Regions from separate parts of the Homo sapiens genome. Here all the other regions are linked to region 4. Evidence: promoter capture Hi-C in 16 types of primary human blood cells and fetal thymus (Javierre and others, 2016). All regions are on one chromosome and are shown on one strand. The core of a region is centred on a gene start or on the middle of the fragment in contact, and the rest is flanking DNA. Distances in the headings are between cores, read along the strand shown.

Region 1 (3,066 bases), core at 482-2,981, 180 kb before region 4:
AGGTACTGGGTATAAGTGAGCTCACTGGAGAATGTTCAACTTTGCTGTATAATAAAATGTTGGAAAATCAATCACATCACTAAAAAAATAAAAAGACAATATCTGGAAGCAGTGGACCTAGTCAGATTAAAAAAAGAAAATCTGCATCAATCCCTGTTGCCGTCACTAAACAGCTGTCTCATTAGCTATTAAGGAAAACACAGTGTCAGAGGGCTGGTTTTGCCATGTAAAAGAAGTCTTCAGCTTGCTGTGTCCTAACACTGGATCGCATATAAATCCCCAAATTCTAAAGGCTAGAAAGGTTTAAAATGTAGATGCAGCTTCAATATCCAGGAGGCAGAACTAAGAACAAGAGATGTAAATCTAGCTCTGGCAGTGGGAAGCGGGGCGGGGGGCAATGGCGAAGCTAAGTTAGAAGCCGCGAGCCACTTAGCCTCTCCAGCTCCAGTAGTTCTGTGTCTGGACGTCGGCCCCATATACTGGCTTAAAACCTCAAGATACTAGAGGATCTCACCAGTGGGAGGTGCCAGAGCAGCTGAAACATGTCCCTGTAAACAATAAATGTTTATCTGGGCAGATAACCTGGCAGACAGCCTTATTCTCATCTTAGGCAACTCGAAACTCCACAACAGGAGACTGAGCACAGAGGGGCCCCTTCCTCTTTGCCACATGGGTAGGAAGCAGAGATGGAGGTGGTCCTGGCTCCTACCACATGAGGGGTGGCAGAAAGCCACTCTCTGTAAATGCCAGCTTCTTCCCTGCTGGATGATGGCCAGATTCCCTTAAACACAGAGGGTGGGGACAGAGAAGTCAAGTGAAGCAACGCTAGACAATGCTGCCGCATAACGCTGGCTGCTCCACCGCAGCCCTGAAGGTATGAGGAAACCCTGGCGTGTTGGCGGCTGCCTCAGGAACCGCGCTGGCTAAGGGCTTCCCCAGGCCTGGGTGGGAGGCTTGTCACTGACTCTGGCCACACACATAGGCTTGGTCGCCACCTCGGTCAGTGGCAAACAGCTGCTGAGAGGGGAGGGGAGGAGTAGACCCAGGGGTGCTGTGTGCTGCACAGCCAAATCTTCCACTTCTGGAGACTCCAAACGATATTCCTAAGAGCCATATGGCTTAAACCCCATGGAGGTACCAGGAAAAAGGCAGTACGACGGAAAGAGGCAGCTGGAAGGAAGGAATGGAAGTGTGTTAACGGCACAGAAACTCCTTTCATTGACAATTAACTGCAAACAATTTTATTACCAGTTCTGAAACCCCAATCCCTAACTGATGAATTAAATCTTGGCAATGGTTATTCCTCCCACCTATACACTTCTGCCCACACTCTTCTTGGAAGGAGAGAGGACAGGGAAGTGAAACCCACAGTATGCCAAAAGGGAAGTCGAGCTCTCATTCATAAGACTACTAAGCTCTCTCCCAGGGAAGAGAATGGAGATGGCACAACAAAGGCTCTTTGCTCTGAAATAGCACCGAAGTGAAGCCCGGCAGAGCCAGGGTGTGGATCTTGGATGGAGTGCAGAGGAGGAGTGTGTTTGTGTATATGTTTGTGCTCATCTGGTTTTTGTTGGGGGAAGGTGACAATTCATTCTTTTGATTTCATTCAAACTTAGAGCTGCTTTTATAATCACTTCCTGAAAACAGAGCAGGAAGAGAGTGCTATCTGCTCACCCCACCCTCCATTTAACACTGCCCCAGCAATCCAACTATGTGCTTTACACTGAGAGGCCAGCTTCTTGCCTTTGGCAGCACTGAAGGCCAGACATTACCAGCACTCCTGTGTACAGCTCAAGGCTCCACCCAAATCAGACTGCACACACTGAATCCAAGAGGAATATCATTCCAGAACAACAACCCAGGAGAGAGAGAGGAGAGCTGAGCAGGCTGGGTGGGACAGTTGGGGCACTTCTAACTTCTGACACCAGGACACCCAAGTGGTTGGCAGAGGCATTTTGGTAGTGCGGTGACAGATCAACTGTAGTGTGGGAAATCCCAAATGCTACAGTAAAGAAGTTATCTCTGTACAAAGAAAGGGGTGACAATAAGGGTGGGGTACAGGCCACAGGGCAGTAAGGTAGAGAAATCAGTTTTAGCGAACTGGCTAACTACTGGGTTAGTCCAATTCTGAATACACAAGTAATATTCTAGCCTCTTTTCAGGAGAGACTGATGTAGAGTAGTCATGGGCAGGCCAGGGAACAAAGTTCCATTTCTGGCCTAAAGTGGATTGGAGGGTTCCTCCGCAGAGAGTCGTAACAGAGTGTTTATATAAAACCCCACAAACCCACTGCTCCTGGCTGTCCAAGGCCAAAGGCATCTTCTTCCTGGAGAGCTGTGTCTCTTACCCTCTAGGCTCTAAGACTCCCTATTTTACTTAGTCAGGTTTCCTGTTTACTCTGAGACCTGTGATCTCCCCGGGGAGTCATTAGAGAGAAGCTGGGGAAGGGGCAGCAGGGAGACGGAACAGTACTAAGGACACAGGTCTTCCGCATCCTACCATTACTTCTTACATGGCAGAAAAACGAATGGACACTGAAAGGGGGTTTCCTGGTTTAATTAATTATTTACAGCGTTTATTCTTTATTTTTTGTTTCTAACGTGCAGGCATCTCTTAGACTGCTGACCCTCAAGGAAAATGCAATTGGGAGCACAACCATGATTGGCACCGAAAGGCATTTTTTGTTGCTGTTCCCATGAGAACCCCATCAGAATGATGAACAAGGTACATACGCTGCTATAAAATAATCAGCATCTCCATTTGGAGAAGGAATTTCTTTTAAAAACACCTCATTTGGGGCACTATGGTCTCTTCTTCTATGGAAATAGGAAGAGGCAGAAGGAGTTCCATTCCTGCCAGAGCAGAGTCTACTTTTTGCTAATTTTTTGGAAAACAAGAGGTTCTCTTTGGCTCTGGAGAAAAACAGACATTTCCAAAGGGAAAATAGAGAAGGAGACAGGGTCTGATGTGGCAAGACTTGTAGCCCTCTCATATCTCCGAGACAGAGATAACCTGGAGGGACCGAAACCCCCTATTTATTCACCCTTCTAACCATGCATTCCATAC
Region 2 (3,205 bases), core at 194-2,693, 160 kb before region 4:
GATTCAGAGAGTAAGTGGTCTATGACCCAAGGAAACTCTAAGAATAAGAATGGAAACTTACCAGCAAGGTCAGCAGGACTTTTGGTTTCCCCCACCTCTCTCCCTCCCTGTCCACTGCAGTTACATATTCATGTCCACAGTCACATATTTTTAAAATTTGATATAATTATCTCCTAGAAATTACTGTATGTAGCCTCTTGGGATCTAAAGCAATTAAGTGAAGATAAATGTATTTCATAGAGCAAGCTGTCAAAGGATAAAGCAATTTCATTCCCCATTTGAAGTGGAGGCTTGGGTCATGCATGGTTTATTTGAAACAAAGCCATCACCTAAAGCTGCTGATCTTATCTCTAACTCTGTTCTCCATTCCAAACTGCTGGAGATGTGTAGCGTGGCACTGCCTGAAGTTATGACATCTGGCTCAAGGCCAGCAGAACAAGCCAGCTCCTCTTCTAGGTTTCAAGCATAAGAGGACGAAAGTCATATTAAAAGACAGTAACTATACAGGTGAAGTCTGTTAAACCCTAAAAAAGGGAGATGTTTCCAGGGTATTGGGAGTGACTACAGAGGCATCTAACAATGGGGAAGTTGTGCAAGAAAAGGCAGAAGAAACAGCCCCCAAATGGGGTAGGTAAAATAAATGCCAAGGAACCAGATTTTTCTCTTCTGGGAGACACCAAACCAAACAGTGAGGCCTATTTCACCAAACAGCCTAAGAGATGGAAAGCACGCCAGACTGACAATCAAGAGCTCAGGGTTCTAGTACTATAAGACCGTGTGAAACTTATGGAAAAGTGCCTGCTTTTTTCTTTTTTTTTTTTTTGAGATGGAGTCTCACTCTGTCACCCAGGCTGGAGTGCAGTGGCGCGATCTCAGCTCACTGCACCCTTGGCCTCCCGGCATCAAGCGATTCTCCAGCCTCAACTTCCCAAGGAGCTGGGATCACAGGCGTGCGCCACCATGCCTGGCTAATTTTGTATTTTTAGTAGAGACGGGGTTTCGCCATGTTGGCCAGGCTGGTCTTGAACTCCTGACCGCAAGTGATCTGTCTGCCTTGGTTCCCAAAGTGCTGGGACTACAGGTGTGAGCCACTGTGCCAAGACATTTAACAAACAAATTTTTTTTTTGAGATGGAGTTTCGCTCTGTCACCCAGGCTGGAGTGCAGTGGTGTGATCTTGGCTCACTGTCACCTCTACCTCCTGAGTTTGAGCGATTCTCCTGCCTCAGCCTCCCAAGTAGCTGGGATTACAGGCGCATGCCACCATACCCGGCTAATTTTTGTATTTTTAGTAGAGATGGGATTTCACCATGTTGCCCAGGCTGCTCTCGAATTCCTGAGCTCATGTGATCCTCCCACCTCAGCCTCCCAAAGTGCTGGGATTACAGGCGTGAGCCACCACGCCCAGCTGGGAAACTGCCTGTTAACTAATTTTTTTTAAACTGTTAAGGGGCACTTTATTTTTGAGACAGGGTCTCACTCTGTCACCCATGCTGGAGTGCAGTAGTGAGACCTCGGCTCACTGCAACCTCCGCCTCCCAGGCTCCAGTGATCCTCCCACCTCAAACTCCCAAGTAGCTGGGACCACAGGCATGTGCAACCATGCCCAACTAGTTTTTGTACTTTTAGTAGAGATGGGGTTTTGCCATGCTGCCTAAGCTGGTCTCCTGATATCAAGTGATCTGCATGCCTCAGCCTCCCAAAGTGCTGGGGTTACAGGCGTAAGCCACTGCACCTGGCCTGACACTTTATTTTTTTAAATTCTTCATATCCAGGCCGGGTACGATGGCTCACACCTGTAATCCCAATACTTTGGGAGGCCAAGGTGGGTGGATCCTGAGGTCAGGAGATCAAGACCATCCTGGCTAGCATGGTGAAATCCTGTCTCTACTAAAAATGCAAAAAAATCAGCCGGGTGTGGTAGCACGCACCTGTTGTCCCAGCTACTTGGGAGGCTGAGGCAGGAGAATCGCTTGAACCTGGGAGGCGGAGGTTGCAGTGAGCCGAGATTGCACCACTGCACTCCAGCCTGGGTGACAGAGTGAGATTCCATCTCAAAAAAAAAAAAAAAAATTCTTCATATCCACATTGTATTCATTTTTATAACATGCAGTCAATGCAATATTTAGAAAGTAGTATTCAATTAAAAAAAAAAGCCATTGAAGCTGTCTTTAGGTGAAATCCATGCATGTCAGACCTTGTCTGAGCACTGCTTTTTACAGAAGCCTTGACAAACTGGAATTGCCTTTCAAGTATTAGTGCATTGGAATCACCTGGAGAGCTTGTTAAATGAGCCTGCTGGGCTCCACCCTCAACTGTTTATGATTCAAAAGGCTGAGGTAGGGCCTAAAACATTACAAGTTCCCAGGTGAATCTGATGCTGCTGGTAATGGCACAGAGAAATCTGGCCAGGAGAATGATCTAGAATTGCAGTGTTTAATACAGTAGCCACTAGCCACATGTGGATATTTCAATTTAACTACATTAAGATTTGTTTTTCGGTTGCACTAGCCACATTTCAAGTATTCAAAAGTCACATGTGGCCAGTGGCTACCATAGAGGATGGTGTGGAAATAGTAACTTTCCATCATTACAGTACTAAACACTGCATCATTACATAAAGTCCTATAATATTTCGCAGCACTGGCCAAGAATCTATTTGATTGCACTGGTTTGTTTAGCTTAGAGAAAAGAAAACGTAAAGAGAATTTCAAGTATAACTAAGGTGTGTCAGATATAGAAAAAACAGACTTTGTGATTTTGAGAAAACTTTTAAAAAATCATTAAGTGGGAATTACAGGAAGGCAGGCTGTGTTCAGTTTGAGAAGGAACTTTTTTTTCTTAGAGATGCGGTCTTGCTCTGTCACCCAGGCTGGAGTGCAGTGGCACAATCACAGCTCACTGTAACCTTGAAATCCTGGGCTCAAGTGATCCTCCTGCCTCAGCCACTTGAATGGCTAGGACCACAGGTGTGCACACCATACCCGCTAATTTTTAAAAAATTTTTTTGCAGAGGCAGGGTCTTGCTATGTTGCATGGCTGGTCTTGAACTCCTGGGCTCAAGTGCTCCTCCTACCTTGGCCTCCCAAAGTGCTGAGATGACAGGCACAAGCCACCTCACTCAGCCTGAGGAGGAACTTTTTATAGTGACTGTCTCATAATAGAGTAAATTCTGGGGAAGCATCTGGAGCAGAGGCCATTGAGAA
Region 3 (3,112 bases), core at 83-2,582, 140 kb before region 4:
ACAAAGGTTGTATGTATGTATGTAGGTAGGTAGGTAGGAAGGCTAGGCAGGTAGGCATGCTCACATAACTGACCCTTTTTTTTTTTTTTTTTTAGAGATGGAGTTTTGCTCTGGTTGCCCAGGCTGGAGTGCAGGGGCGCGATCTTGGCTCACTGCAACCTCTGCCTCCTGGGTTCAAGCAATTCTGCCTCAGCCTCCCGAGTAGCTGGGATTACAGGCGTGCATCACCAAGCCTGGCTAATTTTGTACTTTTAGTAGAGATGGGGTTTCATCATGTTGGCCAGACTGTTCTCAAACTCCCGACCTCAGGTTGATCAGCCTGCCTCGGCCTCTCAAAGTGCTAGGATTACAGGCATGAGCCACCAATCCCGGCCTTTATTTATTTATTTTTTTTTTTGAGACAGAGTCTCACACACTGTCACCCGGGCTGGAGTGCAATGGTGCGACCTCGGCTCACTAATCTTCAGGTTTTCATATACCAGTCATCATCATTAATTACTGTTCATCTATAAGCAATCTTGCCTCCAAAGTTTGGAGTCCAGGACATTGTCCTGATCTTCTGGTCCTCAGACATTGCACTGCCACTACTCTTATATTTTTGCCCTTGAACACACCTCCTAAATGATGTAGATAAGACTACATACATTTAGTACCACTCAGAGCACTCTCAAGTCTCAAGGATTTGTCTAAAAAAAAAAAAAATCAAATTCTCTCTTCAAAGACTCAAATTCTAGACTTTGAGGTGCTTTTGAATCCAGGGCATTCCAAGATTTGAAGAACATTCAATCCAGAGGGAAAGATGCTGATAAATTCAGTCTGAGCATTCTATTCCACTCATATGAACCTTTCCTTCTTTGTTTATCCTCGGGAACTATTCTGAGTCCCTTTAAATATCTATGAAATGATAGAGAGGGAGGTCTAAGAAGGAGAAACTATCTCAAAGGGTAAGAACAAAAGACTTATGTGTAAGGCTCCCTGAGATGGCATCGTTTATACAACAGATAAAAGTCAATAACTTCCTATAAAACATCTAATGATTGAGGACTAAACAAATATTATAATATATTCATACAATATTGTGCAGCTCTTAAATTCATGTTATAGGTAAACATGGAAATATATATTTATTGCTAAGTGAACAAAGTACATTACAAAACAAAACATAAAGTTTGATTCTATTTCTGTTAAAAAGCAAAAATTGGCCAGGCGAGGTGGCTCACGCCTGTAATCCCAGCACTTTGGGAGGCCGAGGCGGCCAGATCACGAGGTCAGGAGATCGAGACCATCCTGGCTAACATGGTGAAACCCCGTCTCTACTAAAAATATAAAAAAAATTAGCCAGGCGTGGTGGTGGGCGCCTATAGTCCCAGCTACTCGGGAGGCTGAGGCAGGAGAATGGTGTGAACCCAGGAGGTGGAGCTTGCAATAAGCCCAGATTGCACCACTGCACTCCAGCCTGGGCGACAGAGTGAGACTCCCCATCTCAGAAAAAAAAAAAAAAAAAAAAAAAAAATCAGTGCTGGACATGGTGGTTTGTACCTGCAATCCCAGCTATTCAGGAAGCTGAGGCGGGAATACTGCTTGAAGCCAGGAGTTCAAGACCAGCCTGAGGAACACAGCTGAGATCCTGTCTCTAATAAATAAACAAATAACCAAAAAACTTCACTTATATCCAGTCATCCATCTACCTATCAGCCATCCTTCTAGGTTGGAACATATGCAGCAACATGGAACAAGAAACAGTAGTTATCTCTGGGTAGTGGATCAAGAAAATCTTTTCTTTTCCGTATTGCTAATCTTGATTTTCCTCTCTTTTTTTGAGAAAGGGTCTCCCTCTGTGGCCCAGGCTGGAGTGCAGTGGTGCAATCTAGGCTGAGTACAACCTCTGCCTCCTTGGTTCAAGTGATCCTCCCACCTCAGCCTCTCAAGTAGCTGGGACTACAGATGCACACCACCACACCTGACTGATTTTTTAATTTTTTATAGAGACAAGGTCTCATTATATTGCCCAGGCTGGTCTTGAACTCCTGGGCTCAAGCGATCCTCCTGCCTCAGCCTCCTGAAGTACTGGCGTTACAGGTGTGAGCCAACATGCCTGGCTGCTAATCTTAATTTGTAAAGTATTTCTAAATGAACATTTATTTTGTAATACAAAGATTATTTTATTTATTTTTTAGACAGGGTCTTGCTCTGTCACTCAGGCTGGAATGCAGTGGTATGATCACAGCTCACTACAGCCTCGACCTCCTGGGCTCAAGTGATTCACCCACCTCAACCTCTCAAGTAGCTAGGACCACAGACGGAGGCCACCAAGCCCAGCTGATTTTTTAAATTTTTAGTAGAGATGCTGTGTTTCCCAGGCTGGTCTCGAACTCCTGGGCTCAGGTGATCCTCCCACCTTGGCCTCCCAAAGTGCTGTGATTAGAGGTGCGAGCCACTGTGCCAGGCACCAAATCTTCATTTTGTTTGATTCTAATATGTAGATATGGGATTGATTTTTGTACAATGGCTTCATATCCAGCAACTTTGCTACATTTACTTATTATGAGAATAATTCTAATAATTTATGCTTTTTGGGGATTTTCTAAATGTATCATGTTATTATCTACAAATAAAAACAGCTTTATTTTTTCCCTTCCAACAGTCTTATTAATACTTCATTTTTTTTTTTTTCACGTCTTACTGTACTGACTAGGACCAACACAGACTGAATGGAACTGGTAACTCACCGCCCTTATCTTATTCTGTTTCTTGAGCTGCTTGCTTGGTGGTTATGTAGTTGTTTATTCTCTAAGGCTGAGGGCAGCAGATCACTTGAGGTCAGGAGTTCGCGACCAGCCTGGGCAACAGGGTGAAACCTCATCTCCACTAAAAATACAAAAATTAGCCGGTGTGGTGGCAGGTGCTTGTAGTCCCAGCTACTCAAGAGGCTGAGGCAGGAGAATCGCTTGAACCAAGAAGACGGAGGTTGCAGTGGGTCTAGATCACGTTACTGCACTCCAGCCTGGGCGACAGAGAAAAACTCTGTCTCAGAAAACAAGGACGACAATGACAGGGTGAAACCCTATTGTACTAAAAGTACAAAAATATAAAAACTTAGCCAGAGAGGGGC
Region 4 (3,225 bases), core at 465-2,964:
GGCAACACCCTGTCTCTATAACGTATACAAAAAATAGCCAGGTGTGGTGGTGCAGGTCTGTAATTCCAGCTACTCGGAAGGCTGAGGTGGGAGGATCACTTGAGCACAGGAGGGGGAGGCTACAGTGAGCTGAGATCCCTCCACTGCACTCCAGCCTGGAAGACAGAGTGAGACCCTGCCTCAAAAAAATTGGCCGGGCACGGTGGCTCACGCCTGTAATCCCAGCACTTTGGGAGGCCAAGGCGGGCGGATCACGAGGACAGGAGTCCAGACCATCCTGGCCAACACGGAGAAACCCCGTCACTACAAAAATACAAAAAATTAGCCAGGCGTGGTGGCACACGCCTACAGTCCAAGCTACTGGGGAGGCTGAGGTAGGAGAATGGCGTGAACCCGGGAGGCGGAGGTTGCAGTGAGCAGAGATCGCGCCACTGCACTCCAGCCTGGGCGACAGAGCTAGACTCCGTCTCAAAAAATAATAATAACAACAATAAAAAAGTTTTTAATCCTAGTATTGCTCTCTAAATATAAATGGAAACAAGCCCAAAACAGGAATCATATGCTCCAGCAAGTACATTTACTGTTTGTAGGTGTAAGGAAAAGGGGAAGAAAAGAGACTGAGGTTTTGGATAGTGCTTCACTATTTTCATAAGTTTAAAAGGTAGGTTCATGAAGTATCCACAAAGATAAAGCAGTTTAACCCAAGAATAGCTCACCCTCGGCAGTCTGTAACTTGGTGGGGGGCGGGGGGATGGGGAAAGCTATTCCTACTACTTTCTAGAGCAGCGGGAGAAAATAGCCTTAATAATCCAATTATGTTAATCAACAAAAACCAATTTCACAGACTGGCCGCAAACCTAGAGAAGGCACCTATCACAGCTACCATTCTACACAACTCTATTGCCTAACGCAGGAGAGGTGAGACACTTAGAATCTTTCTTACTTTCCTGACGTGGCTGGAGACTTGAAATTAACTTGCAAATTGAGCATTCTCTCTAATAAAAACTGCTCCCACACATGCCAGGGCCAAACCCGAGTAGTCTGAGGTCCCGGATCCCTCCAGTGGCGCAGCTTTCGGAAGCCTGTCTTGGGGGGGAAAAGTTCAGCAACGAAGTCGCAGGCTCTTAAACCTTTCTCCCCAATTCCTTCTCTCCGACGTTAAAGCGGTGGCCGGGGCAGGCCCGCGGAGGGCGGCCTGGAGAGCGATACGCCCGGGGCCTCCACCAGACCCCACTCCTTTCCGCGTCTCCCGATGCCTGGGAATCCGGGGCGGGTCTGAGAGGGCTGGGGCAAAAGGAACAGTCACCTTCGCGGCGAGAAAGAGGGTGGAGGCAGGAATTCGGGCCAGGCTCTCCCGGAGCTGGCCAGGACTGGCCGAGCCCGACCCCGCACTAACCCGCGAGAGAGGTAGGGCAGCGAGGGTCCGCCGCGGCCCCAGCGCCTACTGCTGGGGGAAGGGGCGGGGGCTCCGGAGCCGAGGGCCGAGCGGGGAGGAGGCAGAGGAGGAGGAGAGGGAGGCGGGGCGGGCAGGCCCGGCCCAGGAGCTGGGCGGCGCGACTCACCTCTGCTCCCGGCCTGCGGGGCCAGAGTAGCCAGGATCCCGCGCAGCTCCGACGCGGAGATCCGCACACGCTCCAGCCCTTCCGCCATCTTCGCGGCTGCTGCTACAGCCGTAGCGGCTCCGCCACCGCCGCGCGCAGCCAGGAAACCACCACAGACGGGCGGCGCGCGCGCTCGCCCACCTCCCGGCCTTTCCCCGCCCCCTGCCGCCCTCCCTTTCCGAACGACGGTGGCCGCGCTGGGAGGAAAAGCGCCCGCCGCCGGTTCCAGAGGGGCGGGACCGGAGCGAGAGCCTGGGTGGGGCGGGCGGGCGCTGCGCGTGCGCAGAGGTGCGGCCGGGGAGGCGCGCGGAGGCTGGAGCTGGAGGCGCGGCGCCGGTGAGCTGAGGTGAGGCGAGGCCGGGCCGTGCCAGGCCAGGCGGGCGTTTGCGGCGGTGGCTGCCGTTGCTGTTGTCGTGGACACCAAGGACACTGCTAGTCTGGGACTCGGGTTGACAGAGACACCCCTCAGCCTGGGCTCCTCTGGACACCTTAGGCCAGGCTCTCCCGCCACAGGCCCGGCCTAGCGCCGCGGGCCATTACTTGGGACCTTGAAGATCTGCTAAGAGTAGTTGTTACTATTCCCTTTTTTTTTTAGTTGGAGTCTCGCTCTGTTGGAGACTCCCGGGCTGGAGTGCAGTGGCGCGGTCTCGGCTCACTGCAACCTCTGCCTCCTGGATTCAAGCGATTCTCCTGCCTCAGCCTCCCTAGTAGCTGGGATTACAGGTGCACGCCACCAAGCCCGGCTAATTTTTGTATTTTTTGTAGAGACGGGGTTTCACTAGGCTGGTCTCGAACTCCTGACCTCAGGTGATCCACCCGCGTCGGCCTCCCAAAGTGCTGGGATTACAGGCGTGAGCCACCGCGCCCGGCCGCCCCCTGACTTTTAAAAACTAGATACGATATAGTTGGAATCGTGTGGAAGGAAGTACATCAGGAGGCATATAAGTCCATTTGGGACCTGTAATCCCGGCGACTCGGAACGCTGAGACGGGCGGATCGCTTGAACCCGGGAGGCGGAGACTGCAGTGAGCCGAGATCGCGCCACTGCACTCCAGCCCGGGAGTCTCCAACAGAGCGAGACTCCGCCTCAAAAAAAAAAAAAAGTCAATTTGGGAATTTCTGTGTCACTATGGATTCTTGAAAAAAATTACTGCTGTGGATCTCAGGTTGACTTTTTAATTTCCCATCTTTAAAATTGAACTATACCAGAAGGCTGGTACTTGAATCTTTTTTTGGAGAACTGTACAGAGGTGAAGCTCCCTTCCCCAAGGCCTCCTGCCTCCACCTGTTGCCCCTCCACAGCCCCATAGGCTTTTACCCCACACCCATCACAGAATAGTTACCAATTATTCCTTAGTCTGAGCCGAAGGGATTGCCACAACCTCTGACAGAACTCCTTCAGTTCCTTTTACGTGACACTTTGTCACCGGAAGGTTAAGCATAAGAAGAAAGTCAGTAGATGATGGGTGAAAAGATCCAACAGTTCAGAAGAGGAACCATTTGAGTGGTCAGAGCAGAAGACAGCCTTTGCCACCAGATTTGAGAGAAATAGGAAGAAGCGTTAAAAAATAATCTGTTTCATATTGAAATTTGAGAGGCCATTGCATGATTTCTTTTTTCAGCT

What was found. The method cuts DNA at HindIII sites, captures the fragments that hold promoters and counts their contacts. A CHiCAGO score of 5 or more calls a contact.
Region 1: a contact is called between a fragment that was not itself captured here and the fragment with the promoter of SMG6 in region 4, in 2 of 17 cell types (naive CD8 T cells and activated CD4 T cells). The highest score is 5.4, in naive CD8 T cells.
Region 2: a fragment that was not itself captured here is called in contact with the fragment with the promoter of SMG6 in region 4 in 2 of 17 cell types (activated CD4 T cells and non-activated CD4 T cells); the score reaches 6.0 in activated CD4 T cells.
Region 3: a contact is called between a fragment that was not itself captured here and the fragment with the promoter of SMG6 in region 4, in 3 of 17 cell types (activated CD4 T cells, naive CD8 T cells and non-activated CD4 T cells). The highest score is 6.4, in activated CD4 T cells.

What each region holds. Positions count from the first base shown.
Region 1 is chr17:2,122,242-2,125,307 of GRCh38, forward strand. The region is part of intron 13 of SMG6 (SMG6 nonsense mediated mRNA decay factor); the gene reads right to left. Among named protein-coding and RNA genes, the nearest start is that of SMG6-AS1, 34 kb to the left of the region's middle. RefSeq lists enhancers at 398-457, 1,663-1,712. The HindIII fragment of the contact is 5,768 bases long and covers 1-3,066 here.
Region 2 is chr17:2,138,617-2,141,821 of GRCh38, forward strand. The region is part of intron 13 of SMG6 (SMG6 nonsense mediated mRNA decay factor); the gene reads right to left. Among named protein-coding and RNA genes, the nearest start is that of SMG6-AS1, 50 kb to the left of the region's middle. RefSeq lists an enhancer at 403-602. The HindIII fragment of the contact is 3,635 bases long and covers 1-3,205 here.
Region 3 is chr17:2,161,031-2,164,142 of GRCh38, forward strand. All of the region lies in intron 13 of SMG6 (SMG6 nonsense mediated mRNA decay factor), which reads right to left. Among named protein-coding and RNA genes, the nearest start is that of SMG6-AS1, 73 kb to the left of the region's middle. The HindIII fragment of the contact is 5,496 bases long and covers 1-3,112 here.
Region 4 is chr17:2,302,071-2,305,295 of GRCh38, forward strand. It overlaps SMG6 (SMG6 nonsense mediated mRNA decay factor), which reads right to left and starts at 1,715. Exons shown (of 19, transcript NM_017575.5): 1 at 1,563-1,715. The coding sequence starts at 1,650. It overlaps SRR (serine racemase), which reads left to right and starts at 1,880. Exons shown (of 8, transcript NM_021947.3): 1 at 1,880-1,947. RefSeq lists enhancers at 1-787, 1,117-1,843 and silencers at 1,345-1,554, 1,745-1,964. The HindIII fragment of the contact is 10,069 bases long and covers 1-3,225 here.